Regions from separate parts of the Homo sapiens genome. Here all the other regions are linked to region 1. Evidence: promoter capture Hi-C in 16 types of primary human blood cells and fetal thymus (Javierre and others, 2016). All regions are on one chromosome and are shown on one strand. Each heading gives the region's core, a stretch centred on a gene start or on the middle of the fragment in contact. The rest is flanking DNA. Distances are from core to core; before and after follow the strand shown.

What was found. The method cuts DNA at HindIII sites, captures the fragments that hold promoters and counts their contacts. A CHiCAGO score of 5 or more calls a contact.
Region 2: a fragment that was not itself captured here is called in contact with the fragment with the promoter of SMARCA2 in region 1 in 1 of 17 cell types (non-activated CD4 T cells); the score reaches 6.7 in non-activated CD4 T cells.
Region 3: the fragment with the promoter of BRD10 here is called in contact with the fragment with the promoter of SMARCA2 in region 1 in 1 of 17 cell types (neutrophils); the score reaches 8.4 in neutrophils.
Region 4: a contact is called between the fragment with the promoter of RIC1 here and the fragment with the promoter of SMARCA2 in region 1, in 1 of 17 cell types (fetal thymus). The highest score is 5.0, in fetal thymus.

The regions. Positions count from the first base shown.
Region 1 is chr9:2,010,790-2,017,033 of GRCh38, reverse strand. SMARCA2 (SWI/SNF related BAF chromatin remodeling complex subunit ATPase 2) reads right to left here and starts at 1,687. Exons shown (of 34, transcript NM_003070.5): 1 at 1,630-1,687. RefSeq lists silencers at 1-27, 328-497, 1,638-1,977 and enhancers at 685-1,241, 2,028-2,077, 2,138-2,187, 4,398-4,527. The HindIII fragment of the contact is 4,329 bases long and covers 1-2,503 here.
Region 2 is chr9:6,414,207-6,420,450 of GRCh38, reverse strand. All of the region lies in intron 1 of UHRF2 (ubiquitin like with PHD and ring finger domains 2), which reads right to left. Among named protein-coding and RNA genes, the nearest start is that of UHRF2, 4.1 kb to the right of the region's middle. The HindIII fragment of the contact is 2,637 bases long and covers 2,886-5,522 here.
Region 3 is chr9:6,005,225-6,011,468 of GRCh38, reverse strand. BRD10 (bromodomain containing 10) reads left to right here and starts at 2,987. Exons shown (of 8, transcript NM_001017969.3): 1 at 2,987-4,274. The coding sequence starts at 3,682. MIR4665 (microRNA 4665) reads right to left here and starts at 3,643; the gene lies at 3,565-3,643. RANBP6 (RAN binding protein 6) reads left to right here. Exons shown (of 1, transcript NM_012416.4): 1 at 1-444. RefSeq lists silencers at 2,920-3,439, 3,490-3,719, 3,910-4,069, 4,460-4,519 and enhancers at 2,957-3,456, 3,457-3,958, 4,090-4,319. The HindIII fragment of the contact is 10,771 bases long and covers 1-6,244 here.
Region 4 is chr9:5,626,308-5,632,551 of GRCh38, reverse strand. It overlaps RIC1 (RIC1 partner of RAB6A GEF complex), which reads right to left and starts at 3,445. Exons shown (of 26, transcript NM_020829.4): 1 at 3,099-3,445. The coding sequence starts at 3,242. INCR1 (interferon stimulated noncoding RNA 1) reads left to right here and starts at 2,825. Exons shown (of 3, transcript XR_007061406.1): 1 at 2,825-2,985. RefSeq lists enhancers at 2,625-3,125, 5,036-5,255 and a silencer at 3,146-3,685. The HindIII fragment of the contact is 4,913 bases long and covers 551-5,463 here.

The DNA of each region.
Region 1 (6,244 bases), core at 438-2,937:
GCGCCCCGCCCTCCGCCGTGTAACTGCACCCAGGCTGCGAGGCCTGGTGCGGGGCACCGGGAGCACTGTGCTCCGTGTGCGCCCTGCGGCCGGAGGGCGCCGAGGGGCTGGCGCGCCGGACCGGTTATTTAGGGAAGTGCATCGCGACACCTTTGCAGATGGCATGGCCGTGTTTTGCAACGCAAACGGGAGGAAGGGAAGACGGCCGGGTGGAGGGGGAGAGCAAAGGAAGGGGTAAACCAGGTTGGGATGGGAATAAAGCAAACTCCTGAGCAGGGAGCGAGAAGGAAGGAGTGCGTGTCATCGTTGGGAGGAGGCTCCTACCCGGTCTCCCCGCCTCCCGCCCTCGCCACCCCCCTATTCCCTCCCCACCGCAGCCCTTCCCCTTCCCGGGCGAACCACACCGCCGCTGCCCGGTGGTGCGCGGGTCCTGTTTGTGACAGTCAGGCAGACAGGATTATCCGGATCATGGCCTCCCGGGCCCGCAGCCGCCGCCGTGGCTCTCCTGGGTCCCGGCGCGCCCCTAGCACCCGGACGATCGCAGGCGCCCCACGCCCGCAGCTCCCGCGGCGCAAGCAAGGGGAAGACGCGAAGCAAAAGAACACGGACCCGGGGAGAGGGAGGGCAGGGTAACGGAGGCTGGCGGGCACCTCCGACCTCCTTGGGGGCCTCCTCCCTTCCCTCCAGCAGTGCGGCCCGGGCCGGACATCCCGAACTTTAACACCCGAGCCTGCGCTGCCGCCAGGTACCAGAGGCAGGGACGTCCGCAGCGCCCGGGGCGCAGCCCCCTGGCAGCCCCTTTGCCTAAAGGCCTGCCTACCAATCAGCCTCCCCATCCACGCCGGAGGAAACGCGGAAAGTGGAGGTGACACCTCCGATCAGGCACGCACCGGCCCCGCGGCAGTGGCCGCTACCTCCTTCGCGCGTCAGCTCAGGCTTCTCCCGCTGCGATCCGCTCACGTCTCCGCAGCCGGAGCCCTTTGAACAAGTCCCTGGGAAGCGGGTGGCAACAGCGTCCGTTGGCGCCCCGCCGCCAGCCTGGGCTCCCCGCCCTCCTTTCCCGTTCCCCTTCCAACTCTTCCGGGGAGGGTTGCCCGGGATGAACAGTAGCGTTTCCATCCTCCTCCCCTGTCCCCCAGGCCTTCCCCCTCCTGCGGCCACCCCCCTCCCCGCCGCCTCACTTTTAAGGGGATGGGGGGATTGCAACCTGGCCCAATGTGTGTGTTGCAACCTTGAGTTGGCAGCGCCTCTGACTGCCCACTCAGGATCAAGGCTGTGGCTTGTTGGGATTTTTTTCCTCCTTTGCCCCCTTGAAGTAGTAATTATTACTGTTATTATTAGAACAGCAAGGTTCGGTTGAAACTTTCTCGTTTCTTCCACCGCCGCCTGGGAGCTGTCGTTAGAGCATTCCACCTGAGGCCCGCGGGGAGGAGGCGGGCTTTTTTTTGTCGCGGCGGTTGGCCCGCCTGTTTGTTTTGGTCTCCTTGCATGCACAATAAATAATAATTAGGATAATAATGGATAATCCCGGGCGAAGGCGGCGTGGTGCCGGAGGGGTCTGAGCGGCGGCTGCAGCGGGGCGGCCGAAGGGAGGGGAAAGAGGAGAAAAGAGTTGTAAGTTATATTTACCTTGCTCGCGAGGAGTGTGCTGGCTGAATCTCTTCCCTCTCTGAGTCACCCAGAGTACAGAAACAGAGGGAGAGAGGACTAGATTATGAATATGACTTCATTGATGACAGCCGTCCCCTCCTCTTCCTAAACTCGGGCTCCGCCCAGCGTCCCACCCTCGCCTCCTCCGCGGGCGCCGGAAGACGCGCCGCAGTTGGCCCCGCGCGCCGCTCCTCCCTGCCCGTCCGGGCGCGGGTTGGCGGGACGCGCCTGTCACTCGCTCAGCTCAGCGACTCCGGGAGCGCGGGGGGAGGAGGGGGCGGTGTGCAAGAATGTGGATCTAGACAGCTCTACTGTATGCGTGGATCCGTGTGTGACTGCAAGGCGCCGGCTCTCGGGCCGCGTTTGTGCCTGGAGCAGAGAAACTGCGCGGGATGCAGAAAGCCCCAAGCCCTGCTGGAGCTGGGCGCCCGCTGTCCCTTCCCTGGCAGTCCTCTTCCTCGGGCGCCGCGGGGCTCCTCCAGGGAGACTGCGGAAGGGGAGGAGGCGAAGCGAAAACGGAGGGCAGCCGTAGTAATAGCGCGTAGTAGTTCGGGGGTATGTGGAGAAGGTGCTGGAATTTAACTGTGCCTCCGCCTGCCAGTGCGAGCCTGCAGAGAGAGAGGGAGGGGACGGGGGACGGGCTCCGAGTGGCACCAAAGCTGTTTGTGGCACAGTGTGGACTGTGGAAAAAACGGGCATTGTCGTGCCGGCTGAAACTTTTTCTCCCCCTTCCCTAAGGCTGTCATTATAAATCTGCCCCCTATTCCAGGTAAAAAAATAAAAAATAGAAAAGGGAGGCGGGCACAAAGAACGTTCCTGCCAAATCTGTCTCTTCCCTGAAGGACTGCAAGCTTCCAAATGCCAACGAGGGAGAAACAGCTGAGAGGCTGAACGCCTTATAAATAAGTAAACCCACCCTAACCTCTCTGTTTACTTCGTGGACTAGGTACAGCACTATAACCTTCCCTCACCTGCCATCTTCGCTAAAATATATACAAAAATATGGAAAAACAAACCCTGGGGGCGGGGCTGGCGGGTTAGGGGGCGGCTGAAGCATGGAATCTGGTTTTGATTTAAAAAGGGGAATAAATCTCTTATTTTCTACAGACCGTAGTCTCTTCCCTCTCACCCCGCATTTGAGACCAATTAAGGCTGCAAATTGTAATTTGCTGGCAAGTCGCGGTTTTGAGACCTCTTTGCTCCAATTTTCCTTGAAATACAGTACTTTGGCCGGACCAATAGGTCGGTGTTTGGTGAGACAATTTTATTTTTAGTTTTATGAAGTGTGAAAGAATGTTAGGAGACTTTAAATCAGGGGCCTATTATTTTAGACTCAGATTAATGTAGATGCTTGACTCTTAAAACTGTTCCTATGCAGTAGTGTTATGAAAAGTATGATTTATCCCTTATTTCGTAATGTAATGGCTTAAATTAGTCATTCAAAGTGCACTGTGACTATCTGGTTGAGGATTCTTCCCCCTAGAGTAAAATCCTATTTTAAGACCATTTTACTGTTGCAAAATTGACTCCATTTGAGCAACTGGGTCTGAAATGCAGTTCTAGGATGCTTAAAACTTCAGGCTGGATAAGTTGAAGACAAGAAGTAATGGAAAGAACGCCAAATACTGCCATGTAGTCATTAAGAAGCAAGAATTCTTTATATCACTGGTCCACTGCTGGCTGAAGCAGAGCCCACTAGGGCAGCATTTTCATGATGGCTGGGAGTGTTGGTGATCACCCACCCTATAGCTTTCTAAGGTCTTGCTACTTGCTTGTTAACTTTAGCTTCATCATTTTCTGTCTATCTTGAAGTGAACCTCAAGACAACGAAAGATAACACAGCTAAGAGAAATAGAATATAGTGTGCCCTGAAGGATCCATTGTAAGAACTTGTTTTTCTGCCTGAGGATATGCCGGTATAACTATTAACTGAGAAATATATAGGGAGAAATTTTAAACAAGACTAGTAGTATAGTAAAAGTGTAACATAAATACTAACTTCTAACTGCCTAATAAGTCGCAACTAATAATATAGCCAGATAACCTACCTGTCTCTAATAAAGAGATTTAACCTAATAGCAATGCTTATTACATTGAGAGTATTAGGTTTTAATTTTTTTGGGGTCTAATTTGTTTCTCTGGCATGCCGGCCTCACATGCCAATTTTCAGAAATTGATAACTTCACTTTTATTCCCTTGTGAATAAATGCCCTTTATCCCCTTAAGATTCTACTTCCACTTGCCATGCAAATCCTCAAAAAAACAAAAACAAAAACAAATCAATTAGTAAGTCCCTGGAGAAAGAAACTGTCCATTCCTTCTGGCATTTTGTCACAGGGAAAGTAAAGAAGAAAACATTCCCTTTGTTATATGTGTATATTCTTCAGCTCATATAAAATTTTGATGTTGTCCTTGGAGGCGTTGGTATCCACGCATTGTATACACACAGCTATGGGAATTAAAATACATCGTTGGGAACAGAGATTAAATATAGATATTGCATCTCCCTCTCCCTTCGCATTGGTCTAAGAAAGCACCACCTTCCCCCATCACCCTTCAAGTTGTTCCTCTAAAAATTCGTCTTGTTTGTAGTTTGTACCCTAGCAGTTACGAATTTTATAAAATAAGGCCTCAACACAGGAGAAATGAAAAGGCAGCGTCATTCACTTGGTACAAAAAGAAGATTGTAGAACATATAGCATGAGTTTCACCTCTGAGGTAAAACGAAATTTAACAATTGAAGTTAAGGAGGAAAATGATGGGTTTTTTTTGTTTTGTTTTGCAGAAAATCATACAAAAGCAAATGTGGTTGGAGGGTAAAAGGACTCCAGGAGGCTGCACAGGGTGCTACGTTCACACGCAGCTTTTCTTTTTGGACTTTGATGAGTCATAATGTGTTCTCTGAACTTGCTTTTCTCTTTCTAGTTTGGTATCAAAAGATAGAAGTCACTTTTTCATGTCTGTATGGCCACATTCACTTGTTATGTAAGTCTGCTTTGGTTACATTCTGTATAGAGTAGATACTGGGTTTAAAACTTGGTATCTGGATACAACACCCTCATAAAGAAAAATTCCATGCACAACGTTAGGAAGCTTCTAGTCCCAACAGACAAACTGTTAATGCTGCCTGAAATGTTGCCTAGCTTCAAACACGAGCAGGTAAGACCGTTTAGGCAGTGAGTATTTCATCTTCAGTAATGGAAACCAAGATTTGACAAATTGAATCAGCTGACATTTAATTTAAAGAATAGTTTAGAATTAACAAGTAAATTTATTACAGAAATAAACACTCCTCTCTCTCCTTTTTTCTTTTTTTCCTTTTTGAGTCAGAGTCTCGCTCTATTGCCCAGGCTGGAGTGCAGTGGCGGGATCTTGGCTCACTGCAACCGCCGCCTCCCAGGTTCAAGGGATTCTCGAACCTCAGCTTCTCGATTAGCTGGGATTACAGGTGCCCGCCACCATATCCAGCTAATTTTTGTATTTTTTGTAGAGACAGGGTTTCACCATGTTGGCCAGGCTGATCTGGAACTCCTGAACTCAAGTGATCCACCCGCCTCTGCCTCCCAAAGTGCTAGGATTACAGGGGTGAGTCACCACACCCCGCTCTCTCTTTTTTTTCTAATGGGCATGTTCAATAAATTATGTTTTTCACAATCATTCCCCCAAAATACCACCCCCAATTCTCTTTATGATTATATCGTTCTTTAGCTTAAAATCCTTTGTCTATTCCCAATCCATTTTACGGTAAGTTTCAAACTTCTTGGCATGTTATCCTAGGCTGTGCATAGACAGGTCTCTACCAGCGTTGTTGACCCTGCCGCCAAAAATGCCTGGGCTCAGGGAAAACCTGTCTACCGTTTGGTTCCTAAGTGACCACATTGGACATTCTCCCCTCTGACTGAAGTGCAGATCCTCAACCCACATCCTCAAAACTCAACTATGACCCAGAATCCTTCTAGTGGTCTTCCCTGTTCTCCCCAGGCAGAGGAAGCTGCTTGTCCTACTCTGCTCCCATAGCAACCGGTGTGCGCCTCCATTATAGCACTTATCACTTTGATGCAATTATTTGTTTGGTGTTGTCCTCTAGATGGTTAGTGCCTGGAGGGTGTTTCGATTCATCTTTGAAACCTCAGCAATTACCCTGATACCTAGCACATTGTATTTAAAAAAAGAAAAGAAAAAAAAACTTTGTTGAAGGAAAGGATGAGAGATAGATAATAAAATTACCTGACATAGAAAATTTAGCCGGTCTTCACTATTAGTAATTATCATGTTAATGAACAACATCAGTAAGTGTTCCGAATCTTTACAGTATCTGCCAAGGCTTGAAAACGCTTGGAAAATGTGTTTGGTTTTTGTTTGGTTTTGTTTTGTTTTGTTTTGGGGAGGGGGGATGTGGGAAGATGAGGAGAAGCTACAGCTCTTGTAGTCATAGAAAGAGCACCGACAAGAGGTTTTGTTTGTTTTTAAATTAGGCTAGGAGTAACATGAATGCATACATGGCAATTGTTTAATACAGTAGTCACAATTATAATTGCAGCTCCTTTTTATTTCTCTTTTAAATTACATGCCTGAAGTTGTACAGAGACTTGTA
Region 2 (6,244 bases), core at 2,955-5,454, 4.4 Mb before region 1:
GATTACAGCGTGAGCACCGCACCCGGCCATAAATTCTTAATAATTACTCCATATTCACTACAGAGAACACTGCTAGCCATTAAAACAAAAAAAATGGGCCGGGCGCGGTGGCTCACGCCTGTAATCTCAGTACTTTGGGAGGCCGAAAAGAGCAGATGACGAGGTCAGGAGTTTGAGACCAGGCTGACCAACATGGTGAAACCCCGTCTCTACTAGAAATACAAAGTATTAGCTGGGCGTGGTGGTACGCACCTGTAATCCCACTACTCAGGAGGCAGAGGCAAGAGAATCTCTTGAACTCCAGAGGTGGAGGTTGCAGTGAGCTGAAATTGCGCCACTGCACTCCAACCTGGGCAACAGAGGGAGACTGTCAAAAAAGAAAAAAAAAAAGGTGGCGGGGGAGGCTGGGCTCCGGGCCTCACATCTGTAATCCCAACATTTTGGGAAGTCAAGGTGGGAGGATCACTTGAGCCCAGGAGCTCCAGACCAGTATGGGTAACCCCATCTCTACAAAAAATAAAAATAAATAAATAAATAAAAAAACGTAGCCGGGTGTGATTGTACATGCCTGTGGTCCCAGCTACTCAGGAGGCTGAGGTGGGAGATCACTTTAGCCCAGGAGGTCATGGCTACAGTAAGCCATGATCATGCTATTGCACTCAAGTCTGGGCAACAGAGTGAGACCCTGTCTCAAAATAAACAAATAAATAAATAAATCCCAAAATGTTTCATTGTGGCTGTGACCTTATGACCTACACAGAAAAACTCTAAACTAGATTTAATTTCTCAAGTTTTATGTTTAATCAGTGCTTGAATCAACTTCAAGAAATGTGAATTTTCAAAGTTGTTTTATGACCTTATTTTTCATAAAGACATTAAGTCATCAGCTCAGTGTTTCACTTTTTTAAAAAACACATTAAGTCAAATATGTTATCTTTCTAAAGCATTATCAGTAGGTTTTTATTTTTTAAGTCAAGCAGAAAAAAAAACAAGAAGGGATAATTCTAATTCTTGCTCATGTTACTCCACTTGCCTGAAGTTCTCTAATTCTATCGATCTGCAATTATCAAGTTTTATCAAGAAGTCTTCCAGGAAGAATAGTGAATAAATTATTTGCAACCCACCCATATTTTGGTAAGGGTTATGGGTTGAAATCCTAATCCATGGTACTTGAGAATGTGACCTTATTTGGAAACAGTCTTTTAAAGAGGTAATCAGAAAATAAATTTAACAAAAGAAATGTAAAACCTACTGTTACGAGCTAAGTTGCGTCCCTGCCAAAATTTTTTTGTTAAAGTCCTAACCCCCAGTACCTCAGAATGTGACTTCATTTTGAGATAGGGTCTTTAGAGAGGTAATTAAGTTAAAACAAAGTCATTAGGGCCCTAATCCAATATGGCTAGTGTCCTCATAATAAGGGGACATTTGGAAAGATGCAGCCGGAAGACAATGTGAAGACACAGGAAAAAGGCAGCCATGTGACTGGAGTGATGTACCTAATATAAGCCAAGAAAGAAAATTTCCGGCAAAGTGTAAAGGGTTCTCCCCCTAGAGCTATCAGAGGACGGCCCTGCTGACACCTTGCTAGACCTCTAGAACTGTGAGACAGTAAATTTCTATTGTTTTAAGCCACCCAGGTTTTGGTACATTAGTACAACAGCCCTAGGAAATTAAGTCTCCATTTTGTTTCTTTATAAAGTTCAGTTGGCAATTTCACTATGATACAGTGAAACAAGAAAACTAAACTCCTTTCAGGCCACAACTATCACTTTCCCAGAAACATAATCAATTTTTAAATTGCTCATTTTCTACTCTTCATATGTATTACTTTTCAACATTCACAACTCTAACACAGTAACATCATATTTGAGAAGTCAACCAAATGGAAATAAAAGTATGTCCTGAATTTAAAACTTTTAATCTACTAGATCAGTAATTTGAACTCAGGTGGTCCAAGAACCCAACAAGCACAATCTCAAACACTACAGGTATTCACATTTGTCAAGTAGAACAAGGGATCAAGAATTTCACAAGTTTCCCAGTCAGGGAATTAAATTATGTACTACCTCACAAGTTACCATGCTTACTCTAAATAAGCCAAAGTAGTATTCCAAGTCAGTAAGCAAGTAAGCCCTGATAAGGATAGGGATGGGAATATTGCTTCCTTGATTTAAAAAAAAAAAAAAAAAAAGGAACATCCTCTAGTCTTGAACTCCCGTGGAGGGAAAAAAACCCCAAAAAACTCAAGGAGCAAACACTGCATTCACACCATCATTTTGACATTCTCCAACACCCCCACAAAAAAACCCAAAACAAAATACCTTACTAATTCTGGAGGAGCTGAAAAAGCGTAACATACAACTGACAAACATTATGACTATTTTTAAATGAAAGTGCTTAAAGATAATTAAAAAAAACTAACAGTATAAAACATGCAAATTAACTAGTAGCATATTTCCAAAAATGAAGATAGCAGTTAAAGTGATAAAACTGCTGGAAATTGAAAGAACATTTTTCCACTTAGGTTTGAGGGACCAGAGTCAGAGTGACGTTGAGGGTATTTCTACAGTCAGCTCCTGGTTAGTTTCTACTAAATGACGGTCAGGAGTAAATACAAACTGTTTCAACTGGTGCTTTTTAAAATTTGATTTGACAGGAAAAAATGTCGTAAGAGCACCATGTCTAAGCATATCACGGCATGAGACCCTATAAGTTACATCCACAGTAACATATAACCACCTTTCCTCATGCTTGCTATGACAGGCTTTTTAAACCCAGATTATCCACTCCTTCGCTAATTCATAGGTACTCCTCCAGTCTTCCTACAATAGTGACCATTTATCTACCGCAATAACAAGTTCCACACAACTTTATTCCACAAAGCTTCACATATTATGAAGAGCTGTGAAGTGTTGAGATGATTTACTTGAAAAGTACCGAAGTTCTTCCACATTTAATGAAAGTGAAGATTGAAAGTTATCTCTGACACTCAAATTAAGCTCTAAGTAGGGAAAAAAGGAAGCGGTCATTTAGAAATCACAAACATCTGTGAGTCAGAAGCATGTAACTTAGGTCCATCAATGTCTCAAAAGCAAATGTTTGAGAACTGCCATACTCGAAGATGGAGATGCAGTATTTACAATACTTAAGAAGCAAAAATGGTTAGGATTTTTTGTCAGACCACTCTTGAAATTTTACTGAGTTGAAAGAAGAAACTCCAGGTAACAAGAGGAACTGCAACAATGATGCAAGGGAATACTAGAAAGCAAATGCCAAGTGGAAGTGGCTGAGAGGGCAGTGGGAAGTCATTCCCAAGCAACTACTGACTAGGGATGCCAGTGAAGGGCAAAACAACTTTCACGTATCCATCACATATTATATATGTGTGTATTATATATGTTATATACATCATATATAATATATACATAGATATTCCTTTAAATAGGCAAGTACTTTTATATTCTGTGTGAAAACCAAGTGGGAGAGGCAACTTTTTTCTTCAACTATAGTTCATGCCCCACATTGTTATCTATTTTAAGACCACCTCTATAGTGGTAAGGAGTGAAAGAATGACGAGAGAGAATCCTTTAAAATAGGAAAAGCTCTGGATTCTCAAAAGATTTAGGCCGGGCGCGGTGGCTCACGCCTGTAATCCCAGCACTTTGGGAGGCCGAGGCGGGCGGATCACGAGGTCAGGAGATCGAGACCACGGTGAAACCCCGTCTCTACTAAAAATACAAAAAATCAGCCGGGCGCAGTGGCGGGCGCCTGTAGTCCCAGCTACTCGGGAGGCTGAGGCAGAATGGCGTGAACCCGGAAGGCGGAGCTTGCAGTGAGCGGAGATCGCGCCACAGCACTCCCGCCTGGGCGACAGAACGAGACTCCGTCTCAAAAAAAAAAAAAAAAAAAAAAAAAGATTTAGAGATCCACCAACATAATCTCTTCCTTAAAAAGACCCAATCCCCCGCGTGCCTCAAACTCAACTTCCCAGATAAGAATGTTCACAGCATGTTATCCTACTCTAACCAAAACTTATAGCCCTGAATTGCAGGTCTCCATTTTGACCCTCAAATGTGGAGTCAAGGCTGGGCACGGTAGCTTACGCCTGTAATCCCAGCACTTTGGGAAGCCGAGGTGGGCGCATCACCTGAGGTCCTGTCCTAGATAGAGACCATCGTGTCCAAAATGGTGAAACCTCGTCTCTACTAAAATACAAAAAATTTGCCGGGAGTGGTGGCGCACGCCTGTAGTCCCAGCTACTTGGGAGACTGCGGCAGGGGAATCGCTTGAACCCGGGAGGCAGAGGTTGTAGTAAGCCGAGATCGCGCCACTCCAGCCTGGCGACAGGGCAAGACTCCGGCTTAAAAAAAAAACAAAAACAACAACAAAAAAAGTGGAGTCAATTAACACTGCCTTCTCCAACTTCACCTACATACAGATCACCTGGAGATCTTGTTAAAATACAGATTCTGCTTCAGTAGGTCAGCTTCAGTAGGTCTGGCGTGAGGATTTCAGGTAAAGCTAATGCTGCTGGTCCTGAGAATCCAGGGACCATACTTTGAATAGTAAGAGACTAGTGGGAGACTATCTATCAACATTCATTTTCTAAACTCTGGTGTTATCAGAATCTCCCGTGGGGTCTTGTTAAATTCAACTACTTGCAGTTCTGGGGTGAGCTGAACATCTATAATAAATATCCACAAGCGATTCTGATACATACCAAAGATTAAAAGCTGGAGCCTAACATACGAATGGAGTATGGGGGGCGGGTACCACTTAAATAAAAATAAATGTATTGTCTACAATTTATGACATTTTTCACTACGTGGCAGTAAAGTATTTTGAAGTAGGGGTACCTTTTTCCAATGAGGACATGGTATTTTACAGGACGGGGACTCTCTGTGATGCCATTCCAGTAGTTACCTGCTACAGGCTGGCTACCTCATCTGTGGAGCTCCAGAGACCACGAAAGATAACACTCATTGCCATAGCTACTTGTCAGCGCATAAGAAAGTGAACACACAGCTGGTACCAATGACCTTCCTTTTCTGTTTCCAAGTTAATGGCTGGCACCAAAGGTCTATTCCTCTACCCTACTGGTTTATCACTGGGCTGAAGAAACCCAAGTAGTGAATTACCCACTAGGACCCTGGAAGAGGAAGTACAACGGTTATCCTCAGTTTTCCCTGGAATCTGGAATGAGCTTCCTAGTTTACTGAAAGTCTACTTTGTTGCCTTGAATTTAACCCAATCCCATATGTGATAATTATTTTAGCATATTTGATAATAAAGATTTTAGGAGTGTTGCCCAAGAACATCCTTCATTTCTATCTCTGGTGCTGAAATCACCAGTGTCCTAGGAATTCATGTACTATTTGTCCCCAGCTAGAAAATAAAATGCATCAAACGATTACATGCTTTTTCACTTGTGATCAAAAGGAAACGGTATCAGCCACTTGAGGCACAGCAAAGCAAATCTATGTAGTATTTAACAAGTGTACAATTATTTCAAAAGCAAAGCTTACAACTAAATACCTGTTTTTACAAGTCAAACACTAAGAAGTCAGTACAAAACTGGCTGCAAACACAAATCAAAGGTGCTATAACATTATTTTAAAGAGAGAAGGAAAGGGGAAAAAAAAGCTCTCTCCTTCCCAAAGTGTAATTTGTTACTATGAAATTTCTGGACAGTCTTCGAAGACTAAGCCTGTGAAGGGGAGGAAAATATTCCTTTTAAGTAGTTTGCAACTGTAGGCTACTTCTACCAAATCAAAGAGCTACACTTATTTAAAACCACAGGATTGGAGCCAAACTGTGGTCTATCAACTCAGGATGCCAACTTTTTAGTGTATTAACAACAACATGAAGACAAAGAAAAATACGATGGGTCTGAGTGGCTAGGGATATAGATTGTAAGAGACTTGTGGAATAGGAAAAAAACTTAGACTGGCCAGACCATAAAAATACCAGAGATGCCCACAGACAGCCTTCAAGTATGCACCGCTGGCTATGCTGCAGTGCTATGCTTAAAGCGTGAACGACATGAGTATTAGAAGGCGAGAAGTAAGAAAAGCAAACAGTCTTACACTCCTTTTCACTTCGGGAATAAAACTCTTGGCTTATATAGGGCATTCGTAAACCCGGCCCCCGGTTAAACCGACAGTTTCTTCATGCCCAGGTCTCTAACCTCCCTCGAGACATTCCAAACCTAGGAAAGGCGGCGAGGGAGAGGGACCAGAAGTTC
Region 3 (6,244 bases), core at 1,738-4,237, 4.0 Mb before region 1:
GCAAAGCAGCTCAACAAGAGAAAAAGCTCTAGTTATAGGGCTTAAATTGATTTCTATTTCAAATAATTTCCTAAGAGATTCTAGAGTAGAACTGAAGAGTATTCTATTGGAAAAGTGAAAGGAAAGAAATGTAATTTTCTTTGAACATGAAAAAGAAAACAACTTTGAGAGTAGTCATTTAGCAGTAGATGTGCATTATTATGAGAAAACAGTTCTATAAGTCCAGGGTTAATTATATTAATTGGAATGTCAGTCTTTAATGTCGAGCTTATTGTAGGGTAGAAAAGAGCTTTCTACTCAGCTAACGATTACTCATTGATCCAAAACTTAAATACATCTATAATTTCCTGGGGCTATTGTGAGTACTGTGTATGTATTTAGCAAATATTTAAGACCTAGTAAGTGCTCAATAAATTGTAGCTGTTATTGCTGTTGTTGTTTGTACCTCTATTGTGTCTGGAACTTCTTTTACTTTAGAATTTTCCCAATCCATTCCCTACTCATTCATATTGGCAGGCTATTTAGGCTATTGTTGACAAGAATATAAAGTTGAGATTTTAGATATGCAATTCTGTCCATTCCATGTAATTATTACTAATGGGGGAAAAAGGAAAATTAAGGACATTATGTATAGTATGATCACAATTTTTAGTATATTTAAGATAAATAAAGTATAGAAGAATGAATAGAAAAATCCCACCTCAAAGTATTAATAGAGGTTTTCTCTAGGTGGTAGGATTAAGTGGCAAATTTTCTCCTCACTTACCTATATTTTCTAATTTACCTACATACCTACAACCAACATATTTCTTGTTTTGTTTGTTTGTTTTGAGATGTAGTTTTGCTCTTGTTGCCCAAGCTGGAGTGCAATGGCACGATCTCGGCTCACTGCAACCTCCGCCTCCCAGGTTCAAGCAATTCTGCCTCAGCTTCCCGAGTAGCTGGGATTACAGGTGCGCACCACCACTCCCAGCTAATTTTTTGTATTCTTAGTAGAAACGGGGTTTCACCATGTTAGCCAGGCTGGTCTAGAACTCCTGACCTCAGGTGATCTGTCCACCTCAGCCTCCCAAAGTGCAGGGATTACAGGTGTCAGCCACCGTGCCCAGCCCATATTTCTTGTGTAATAGAGTTTCTTTTTTAAGATCAAGGACCCGATCCTACTTTCATTATAGTTAAGTTGCTATCATCTTGACCTCTTCATAACCTAGAGTTGAGGTTCCTTCTACTCACCCACACCTTTCTCTTTTATATAATCTTAATTAAGAAACCCTTTATCAACATTTCTAGCAATTCCCTACACTTTTATGTATGAGGAATTAGAAATTCTGCCAGATGACTTGGAATTAGGCACCTGGAGTTTTTGAAGTATGACAGACCTAGATTTTAACTTTGTTTAACAACTTTCTTAAACTAAGAGGCAGTTTCCTCATCTGAAAAATAAGGTTAATACCTAGCTGATAGGCTTGTTGTGAGATTAAAGGAGACAATGAATATAAAGTGCTTAGTGGCACAGGGTTCAATAATGTAAGCTAATATTGTCCAAGAGTCATGAAATAGAGCTGATGACTAAAGAGGAGTAGAGGATGTTTGCTTGGGTACGTTGGGCTTCAGATTCCTGGGCTTTGTCGAAAGAAAGGAGGAATGTCTAGTCAGACACACGTTTTGGTTGCCAGGTGCTGAAGTAAGACTGATCCCTGCATTTTTCTTTCTGTGAGCTGAGGTTCTGTGGACTCTTCAGAGTCCACAGACTCTTCTCTGAGGGGAGAGAACCCTGTAAATGCGTTATATATTACAAATGTCTGATGAGAGGAGACCTCGAATACTAGATAAAAGGTATGTGTGGAGGACAGTGTGAATACCCTAACAGAGCGTTCCCGCTTCACTATTTTACTTAAGAGTGATACTTAACTTACTGGACAAAAACAGCTTTGAGGTTAAAAAAAAATTTTATCACTGCTTTAAAGTTCACATTAATGAGAAGTAAACAATTGCAAGAGTCAGAGTATCCTAATCATTTAGTTATACACATTTTACTTTTAAAATGCATGATTTCTGTAATTTTGTTTTTGTGTTTAGGTAATTCTAGGTTTTAACGAGGGTTCTGTGTACCTAGAAAAAATAATATGTGCGTCTTTCAAATAGAACATGAGGAAATAGTAGTATTTGCTTTATGGAACCATGAATTCCTACCTCCCAACTAATTTTAAGTAACATGTAAACCAATGTGAATGATGAGTCCACTTTTTAGTCATTAAACAGTAATTGTAAAATGTAGTGAGATTATCAGCCCATGCAAACAACTGTTTAATGCTGTACAACTCAGACATGAACTATTTTGACTGTTTTCAGTCCCAAGAATTTGTTTAAATGAGGTTCCATTCTCTTTATTCTTAACAGATCTCAAGAATCGGGAGGGTGGAAATTTGTAACTGAAAACATGGAATTAGTTCCAAAATATGAATTGATGTTAAGAGCTGGGGTTCTAAAAATCACTTCCTTTTCTTCTGCATGTGAACGTATGGTCGAGTCCTTAAACTTTCTTTCTAAACTTCTCAAAATTCTGGTTATATATAGAAGACCCGCAGTCACAAGGGAGAAAGGGTGGGAACAGAATGTAAATTTTATAGTAGAGAAGATTTACATTTTGCGCTTTCTCACTATTCATTTGCCATTAACAAAGGTTATCTAGCAACTTTAATTTTAGTTTGGGGGGCTAACACGGGTCTTGCAAAAGAAGTTTCCTCTTGAAGCACTTGCTTTAAAAAAAGCCTTTTGGCCACCTTCCCAGGCGGTAGCGAATTAAGCTGCGCAGGCGCCTTGCTTCCCCCTCCATCAACATGTTCGATTGGCCTACGATTGATTACATCATTGGTCCGCGCAACCCTAGCAGGCTTCTGGGCCTGTAGCTGAGCCGAAGCTCTTCCTTTTGCGTAGCGGGGCGGGGCACGATGGTGGCGGGGGGGGAGGGGGGAATTGTTCTACTACGCATGCGCACCGGGGATGGCGACAGGGCCTCTTTCTTTGCTTCTCTCCACAGCTCTTCCCAGCCGGGGGGCTGAGTGCCCTCCCCCTTCTCTCCCTGCCCCTCCCCTTTCTCCCCCCTCACCGCCCAGCGGGGCTTCTAACTGACAGTTGTCGCCGGGCCCCGTCCGTGCACCGCCTCCTTCTGCCCGTGTCCCCCGCAGGTAGAGGGGGGCGGGAGGGGGTGTGAGGGAGAGGAGGAGCCGGAGCCGCCGCTGCGGCCCCCTCCGGGGAGGGGAGAGGAGAACCCCCTTCCTCCTCGCCCCCTCCCAGCCCCCCGCTGGCCCGGGAGGGGGTGGGGCGCCGAGGCCGCGGCGACCCGGCAGGGCCTGGCCGGTGAAGAGCAGGCGGGCGGGGTGCGGAGGGGTGAGGCCGGCGAGGGCCGTGCGCGCGCCGCCGCCGGGGGGGAGGGGAGAGGAGGGCACCTAGGCTCTCCTCTTCTCTCCCCCCTCCTCGCGCGCCATGTAACCCCGCCCCGCCGGCGGTGAGCTCAAGACCCCCGCGCGCACCGAGCCGAGCCGGCGGCTGAGGAGAGCCAGGCCCGATGTGGCGGGGGCTACGCGCCGCGGCCGAGCCGTGAGGAAGCGGCTCGCGCTCACGCGTCCCCCAGCACCTCGAGCGGCTGTTCCACACCGCCCAGCCTAGGCCTGCCGGGGCATGAGTGTGCCCGGGACGCCGGGAGCGATGGAGCCGGCTGGGGAGGAAGAGCGGCCGCCACCGGCGGCCGAAGGAGAGGACGACGAGGAGGAGGTGGCAGCGGCGGCCCAGACCTCAGGGCCGGCCCACGGAAGGAGTGCCTCCTCGCTGGAGGACGCGGACGATCAGGAGGAAGAGATGGAGGCGATGGTGATCGGAGGCGGTTGCTGCAAGGAGCAGGAGCTGACCTACGAGCTACAGCAGGGCTACCGCATCCTGGGCGAGTTCCTGCAGGAGAAGCACCGGGGCCTCACCGCCCCCTTTCTGCAGCCCTTGGGGGGCGTTGCCACCGCGGAGGAGGAGGTGGCGGAAGGGCCGCGCAGCGGGGGCCGGGGCGGTCGCGCCTTCCCGCAGCAGCCCGGACAGGGCATGTGTCTGCTGCAGATGGAAGAGAAGTTCGCCAGCGGCCAGTACGGGGGCATCACCGAGTTCGTGGCGGACTTCAGGTTGATGCTGGAGACGTGCTACCGCCTGCACGGAGTGGACCACTGGATCTCCAAACAGGGCCAGAAGCTGGAGATGATGCTGGAGCAGAAGTTAGCGCTTCTCTCTCGGTAAGCGAGCCCGGTCCCCGGTGGGACTGACAGACTGACACAAACACACACTCACACGTGCCCGAGGATGGGCTGGGCCAGGGGCCTGGGGGCGGCGCTGATAGGTGCTGAGTCGGTGCTGGAGAAGCCCGGGAGGAGGAGCGGCGCTGGGCGGGGACCGGAGGGGTGTGGTGGGTGTGGGCCGAACCCGGCTTGCGCGTAGACTGAGAAGGAAACCCGAGTCTGCAGCGCTGAAGAGCTGGGTATAGTTTGCAGATGTAAAATGGAATGGGTCCCGTAGGAAGAATTGCACGTGTAGGCAGAGGAACAGTTTTTGTGGGATGGAAGTTGGACCTGCAACTTTTAGACAGTTTTAGCATGACATTTAAAACAGCGTTTAGGATGAAATATCTCTAGAAAAATAATTTTGGCTTATGTAAAAAGGTGTCTTAAACCATTAAAAAATAATTTTATCATTTACTACCCATGTCGGTCATCGAAGATTTATGGAGTGTTACTAAATGGTTAATGGTTACTTTTGCATACTACTGATCTTTTCTCTCCGTTTCATCTGAGGACACCCAATTTTTGCAATAATAGGGAATGCATCAACACACATTTTTTAAAGTTTATACATTTATGTTTATTCTACCAGAAATCATAGGCAAGTCAGATGATACTGTGCTCTTGGTATCCGCCACCCATATATCCAATTATTTAACACAAGAGGAGGATACTAAAATGAATGTATTGTTTTATAATAATTGTATAGTCTGTGTCAGCCAAGTTAATTTCTAAAGTTTAAATTTTTCGGGAGTGGAAAAATTCAATGTTTTTGGTATTGGTAGTTGAAGTGGAATAGTAGTTTGACTGTTTACTATTAGAGTGAATTTAAGTTGAGCAAGTCACTTAACCTTTTTGGCCTCAGTTTCCTCATCTATCAAGCGGGGATAATAATAGTACTTCTCTCATAGAGTTGCTTTGAGGATTTAATGAGTTAATAAATGTGAAATCAACAGTGCTGCTCCCATAGTTAGCCAAGTATAAGTGTTAGCCATTTTAATGTAAGTAGTAGCAGTCGTTGAATAATATGAGTGTATACTTCATATCTGAAACGGCATTATACTTGTGCTCTTACAGAATAGCTCCTAGAAATTGTGTTAATTTTTTGGTTCTTGATTTGTCACTGTAATTTAAAAGTAACCTTTGTCATTGGCTTCCCATATGCCATTTTCAAGACTAACGGTGATTTTTTTCACCAAAAACAGTTAACATAGTGCCTGTCTTCGTTAAGTGAGCTCTCTTTAAGGAACCTCTTCTTGAATCCTTTCATAGAGTAGGATTATTTAGTAATAGAATAATTATTCACATATTTGCTTTGTAAATTACTTTTAATACTTTAGTAATTTTGTATTTCTGTAGTGTGTTTGTTACCCTTGTCTCCACAGTGCATTATTGCTGTGACTCACATAAAAAACAATCCATTCACGTTATTATTTTGAAGTTATGAAGTATCCTCCTGATTGATGTCACAAGATTTTAGACCTGGAAGAACCTTAGAGTTCATCTAATCTATCAGATGTGGGAATAATGATTTAGAATGAGGCAAGAGAATGACTGAATGAAAGTGCTAAGAGATAGCATATGGGTTTGAATTACTGGTGTTTTCAAAAGCTCTGTGTGTAATAAACATTTATTTATTTATTTTATTTTCTCTGAGTCTCCCTCTGTAGCCCAGGCTGGAGTCCAGTGGCGTGATCTCAGCTCACTGCAACCTCCGCCTCCCGGGTTCAAGCGATACTCGTGCCTCAGCGTCCCGAGTAGCTGGGGTTAGTTGTCACCGCGCCCGGCTAATCTTCGTATTTTTGGTAGAGATGGGGTTTCGCCATGTTGGCCAGGCTGGTCTCAAGCTCCTGACCTCAGGTGATCCGCCCGCCTCGGCCTCCCAAAGTGCTGGGATTACAGGCCCTAGCCACCGCGCCCGGCCTATA
Region 4 (6,244 bases), core at 2,196-4,695, 3.6 Mb before region 1:
CAATATAAAAAAGCTAAGTAACTATCTAGAGGCTCTTTTGTTCATAAACAACACTATACTGTATTTCTCAAATTTGGGGTAGGAAATAATTCTGAAGAGATATGAGTCTAAACAGTGGAATTCCGAATACCTACTTAGAATAGAGGACAGTAGGTATAAGTAGTACATAAAAGTTCATTAGAAGACCCATATAATGTACAGTTAGAGATTTTAATAGAGATTCAGTCTTATGAATTATCACTGTACACATACAATTTCCACAATTCTTTTGAACATTGAAACAACCAGCTTAGACTACTAAACGACTGTCCCTTCCACAAGGCTAGTTGTCTCTTTTTAAAATATATCACTCCTAAGAGAGCCTGATTTACTAAGTGAGCCCTAACAAAATTTCAGGTAAGCAAATCTTGTTTTATCATCTCTACGAGCATGTCTCCCTGCCTTCAAATGCCCTCAAGCAGCTGTAAGACTTCAACTCTGTAAAATCCTGTAGATCTTCACATATTATTATAAAACTACTTGTATCTACAGCCTCTCAAAAATCAAAGCTTTTAGCAGCTCCATGAGAACTTTTTAAACCAATTCACTCTAAATTATGGAAGTATAACTGATAGCCCTTTAATTTACCTAAAGGCATTTTCACTTTTAAATGAAGTTTGTTAACCTAATTAACTTACATACTTTCAGGAAGTTTACAAATTAGAAAATCAAAATGAAAACTTTCATACAGAGTAAGAAAGGGCATATCCCAGGAAGAGAAGATTGGAAGCTGGAGTCTAGCATATGTATCCCACTCACCTAGGCATGTAATCATACACCTTATAATCACTTGGTTCAATATTTGATTTTTTTTTTTTTTTTTTTTTGAGACAGAGTCTTGCTCTGTCGCCAGGCTGGAGTGCAGTGGTGGGATCTTGGCTCACTGCAACCTCTGCCTCTTGGGTTCAAGCGATTCTCCTGCCTCAGCCTCCCGAGTAGCTGGGGCTATAGGCGTGCACCACCACGCCCAGCTATTTTTTTGTATTTTTAGTAGAGACGGGATTTCACCATGTTGGCCAGGATGGTCTCGATCTCTTGACCTCGTGAATATCTGATTTTTTTCAGTGACAACAAAGCTGGTGCCCAGAGACCAAGGTTAACCACTCATACTACAGTACTATACAGCCTCCTCTAAGGTATTCCTGCATTTCATTTCACTCCAGACCTCTAAACCCATGGGTTCCCTACAGCCTAACTTTTGCACAACAGAACTTAATAGTAGGGGTCCCTGGACTTCTGTGGAAAAAGGAAGTTGCATGTGAGGTGGGAATTTGAAAGAAGAGTATGAATAGTTTAAATTCCAGAACTGCCTTGGATTTCTAGATGTCGTATGTAACTCCAAAACCAAACAATAGACATGCTTAAGAATATTCACAATGTCCCTAAATTAAAGCATATGTTTATGCTTCTCTTATGGGGGAATAAAGTGGTTTACAGGCTTCTGGTCAATTCATAGGTCATATTGTTTACTTTTATTTAAAATTAAGTTAGGTCTGCCTTTTTAAAGGTAAGAAAAGTTAAATTTTAGACGAAAGTCTAAATTTGTTACATTCAAAAGGAATTATGTATTAAATTCAAAAGACAATTTAAATTCAAGTTCTATTTTTTTCTGCATGTGCTTTAAAGTTGAGTTATATACACCTAAACAAATTAAAAATTATTCAACTGGCATATACATTGTAAACGAATATCTCATTTAGGAACCAGATGATACTTTATATATATTTACACATATGTTTATATATATACACACACACATACATACATATATATTCAAAATACAATCAGGCACTAGACAAAATAGTCATATTGTTGGTATTACGATTTTATAAGTTTGTTTTGTTCTGATTTGCATTTGAAAATTAGATCAGCCAAAACTTGATGGCAAATAGTCTGATTTACAGCCCAACTATGACAGTCAAAGGAGACACCAGAATTACCCGTCACTAAATCCCATCACCAGTATTACCAGGGAAGTGGGTGAGGACTGTCAAGGGCATTACAGGTAATGGAACAGCAACACACAAAGATTTGGGGATTTTAACAAACTAAAACCAGTATTTCACGAACACCTAATAAGGACAAGATCACAACCTATCCCCACATGGTCAAATTAACTTGGAAAGGAGAAAAACTTCACTCTGACATCGATTGGTACTGCCTTCTTTGGGGAGGAAAAAAAGCATTTTTATACTCTGAACTCTGTCGTTCTCATAGACAAAGTTATAGCAGTGTTTGCAGAGAGTAGGGAGTATCCCATCCACCACTTATTTCTTTCTCATATCTACTCAGTAATTCAATACAAGAAAGAAAAAGATAACCAGGACTTAAAGCAAAAACAGAATTCAGTTCCATGCTCCTCCCAAGCCTTATTATTTCCAGGTGTTATAACTGGGAGTTCCGCGGACAGATTTGAGTTCTACTTCCGCTCCTTTAACCCCCTATTCCGAAGAGTCCAAGAGCAGCAGCAAAGAAAAAGACCAACTCGAAAGTGGGGAAGGGATGTTGGGGTTAAAGAGGGGAGTTAAATAACCAGACCTTTAGTGAAGAATAAAGAATTCAGGCTGTAGTTTGTAGAAATAAGTTATTACAGGCCTGTAAAGTCTGGCGCTGGGTAAAGCCCAAGAGGCTTTCCCTAACTCCAAAACGGCGACCTTTAAAGTAAGGGAGGGTTGGGGCACCACAGCGGCCGGATTTCTAATTGTGGAAAGTTTAAACAAATTTGTCCCTCGGGGAATGGGGGAAGGGAGAGAAGAACAAGTCTGGGCTCGGCCGGGGAGCGTGCGGAGTCTGCACGCCGCGGCCGTCGGTCCAACGCGGGGAGGCTCAGGGATTTTCGGCAGCAGCGACTTCATCCACCCCGGACCGCCGGCTGGAGGACGTGCCTGCAGCCGGCGGGTACCTGCGGCCAATTCGGTGGAACGAGGACGCGGACTGCGAAGGCAGGTGGGTCTGGCACGAAGGGGCAGGAGTCCTAGGCTCTGGGTGGAAGTTGGGGGTGGGACGGCGCCGGGAGGCCGGGGAGGCAGCGGCGAAAGGCGGCGGGCGGCTCTACTTACTCGGCTGTACCAGATGCTGAGGCGGGCCGCGGCCAGCACGGCGAAGAAAGCCCTCTGCGGGTCGGACTGAACGTGGAAAGGCGCCTCGGCCGGGCTCCCCAGAGGGCACAGCAGCCTCTTGGGCCAGCCGCTCAGAAAATACATGGTCCGTGCGGAGCCCCCGGCGCCCCCAGTTGCGTCCGTCACACTCAGCGGCCCCGGGCTGGTCGCCCACCTCCCACACCGCCACCGGCCGAGTCGGCGGCGGCGGCGGCGGCAGCTCGGGGCATCTGCCCGCTGGCCTGGCCGGGCCGGGCCGACGCAAGGCTGCGCGACGAAGGCACCCCCAAGCTGACGGGGCCGAGTGTGGGGGAGGGAAGGGGAGGGAGAGTAGGGACACAGAGAGGGCGGGAGGAGCGCGGAGGCCCGCCCCGACCCCGCCCCTTCCTCAGGCCGCGCGGGCGTCACCACGCCGCGCCGCGTGGGTCGGGCCGGGGAGGGCCCGCGCGCGCGCTCTGGAGACTCCTGCGGTCTCCCTAGCTGTTTCTTGAAGCTCTGCATAAGCCTCGCCCGCGGCCGCCGGGTTGCGTCCGCACTTCTGCGCGCTGGCCCCTCCCTTGCTCCTCTCCCTAGCAGTCTCCAGGGTTTTACCGGGAGGACCTAGGCAACGGCCTGAGACTCCGAGGCAAGTGGGGCGAGTCTAGGGATAACGCAGCAGCAAGGCTACTGGGCCGGTGGAACACGCCCTGGCCTGGCCAAATTGGACCTCCCTTCCGGATTGGCGGGGTCTCGGTGGGGGCGGGCCGGTTGCCGGGGGGAGCTGGAGTCACGTGACGGCCGGCGCGGTTTCCCACTTTGGGCTGCCGGCCGCTGTGGCTGTGGTGGGCGGTAGGGGCTTTTACCGTGTGAGCTCCTTTAATGCCGGGGTCTGCAGTGAGAGCTGGTGATGAAGCTCCTGCCGGTGTGGAGCTTACATCCCTAAGGGAGCGTTTATTTAATCAGTAAATAAACCACTCACCATGAAAGTATTGAGTTCTGTCTCCTGCCTTTCAGGAGTTCTAAATCTATGTCTTTGAAATCCATTTCCATTCGTCTCAGCCTTACCAGCCATAACTTTAGATGAGAGGAGGCTATCTCTTTCGTGCTGCAAAAGGCTTGGACTTAGTTTTAGAACTGGAAGGGACTGGTGATAGCGTAGGTCCATATTTAGCTTTTGGACCCCAGGTATCACCTTAGCTGTAACTTTCAACGGATTGACCCAGTGGTAACGTCTGAATAGAAGGAGGGTTGAGGGGATATGGTGTGGAATGGGGGAAGGAGGAGTCTGAAATAGAAGAAAGATTTGCTTCTCATTGTCTACCTTTTTTAGTACAGTTTGAATTTTTCCATATGTTTGTATTACTTTTTCAATTAAAAAGCCAGGTTTAAAAAATGACCCCACATTAAAAAGTAGCAACGTAGGCGGGGTGCTGGGGCTCACGCCTGTAATCCCAGCATTTTGGGAGGCCGAGGCGGGCAGATCACTTTAGGTAAGCAGTTCGAGACCAGCCTGGCCAACATCGTGAAACCCCCGTCTTACTGAAAATACAAAAATTAGCTGGGCGTGGTGGCAGGTGCCTGTAATCCCAGTTCCTCAGGAGGCTAAGGCAGGAGAATCGCTTGAACCTGGGAGGCGGAAGTTGCAGCAAACCAAGATCCCTCCACTGCACTCCAGCCTGGGCAACAGAGTGAGACTGTCTCAAAAAAAAAAAAAAAAGTAGCAACATAAACAGAAAAAAGGAAACAAAGAAACTTAATTCATATTAGATATAGCATTGTAGCTGGTATTCATAACCAAATATGTAACTTTCTGTAATTTTTCTAAACATTCACTGCATTCCCTGGAAGGTGATGATAGAATCCTGTATTCCTCAAATGGAGGTTGAAACTGCCTCACCACTCACCAGCCTGTTGCGATCAGATTGTCTCCTTGGCGTCTACCCTCCCCCAGTCCAACACAGCAGCCTGGAACATAGTAAGCATAGTAAGCTGGCAGTATTTGTCAGACAAACCGTGGAGGAAACCCTGATCCAGCTGAGCTACACCATTAGACAAAGAGGCCCAGAGAGGTTTCTTAACTTGCCAATTTCAAATTGTAGAATAACAAAGTTGCATCATACTTTCATCTTAGATTCAGTTATGCACTTGGCAGAAAGAGGAAATGAAAATGTTCTAGTGCAGCAATTTTGCTGGCAGTGTTACTGAATGTTTGTCCCAGCTGTCTCTCAGAGAGTCTTTGTTCTCATGTGTCTCAAGTTTGTCATACTGTGCTCATGGGCAATTTAAGGAACTTCTAAGCAATTTTTATTGCACTCAATTTTAACCTTACTTGCTGACTTTAGAAGCTTATTCCTCTGCCACACTCCTGTGTAGCACTTAAGATTCACAAAATAATTCCAAATGCTTGTCTTGATTTAATTCATAGTAAACATTCAAGGTGAGTGACATTGGTGTGATGTTGTTATTCTCACTTTCTCAAGTGAGGAAACAGGACAGGTGTGGTAGATGTGCCTGAATTCACATGGCCTGAAAAGAACTGATGTTCTTTCTACAGATCCAGTGTGATTTCTTTCTTTTTTTTTTTTTTTGAGGTGGAGTTTCGCTCTTGTTGCCCAGGCTGGCGTGCAATGGTGCCATCTCAGCTCACTGCAGCCTCCACCTCCTGGGTTCAAGCAATTCTCCTGCCTCAGCCTCTGGAGTAGTTGGGATTACAGGCATGCACCAACATGCCTGGCTAATTTTGTATTTTTAGTAGAGACGAGGTTTCTCCATGTTGGTCAGGCTGATCTGGAACTCCCGACCTCAGGTGATCCGCTCACCTCGGCCTCCCAAAGTGCTGGGATTACAGGCGTGAGCCACCGCACCCAGCCTCCTGTGTGATTTTTTTAAAAATTTAAGGTTTGGCTGGGCGCGGTGGCTCATGCCTGTAATCCCAAAACTTTGGGAAGCCAAGGCAGGCGGATCATGAGGTCGGGAGTTTGAGACCAGCCTGGCCAATATGGTGAAACCCTGTCTTTCTGCTAAAAAAAAAAAAATACAAAAATTAGCCAGGCATGGTGATATGCACCTGTCATCCCAGCTACTCTGGAGGATAAGGCAGGAGAATTGCTTGAACCTGGGAGGCAGAG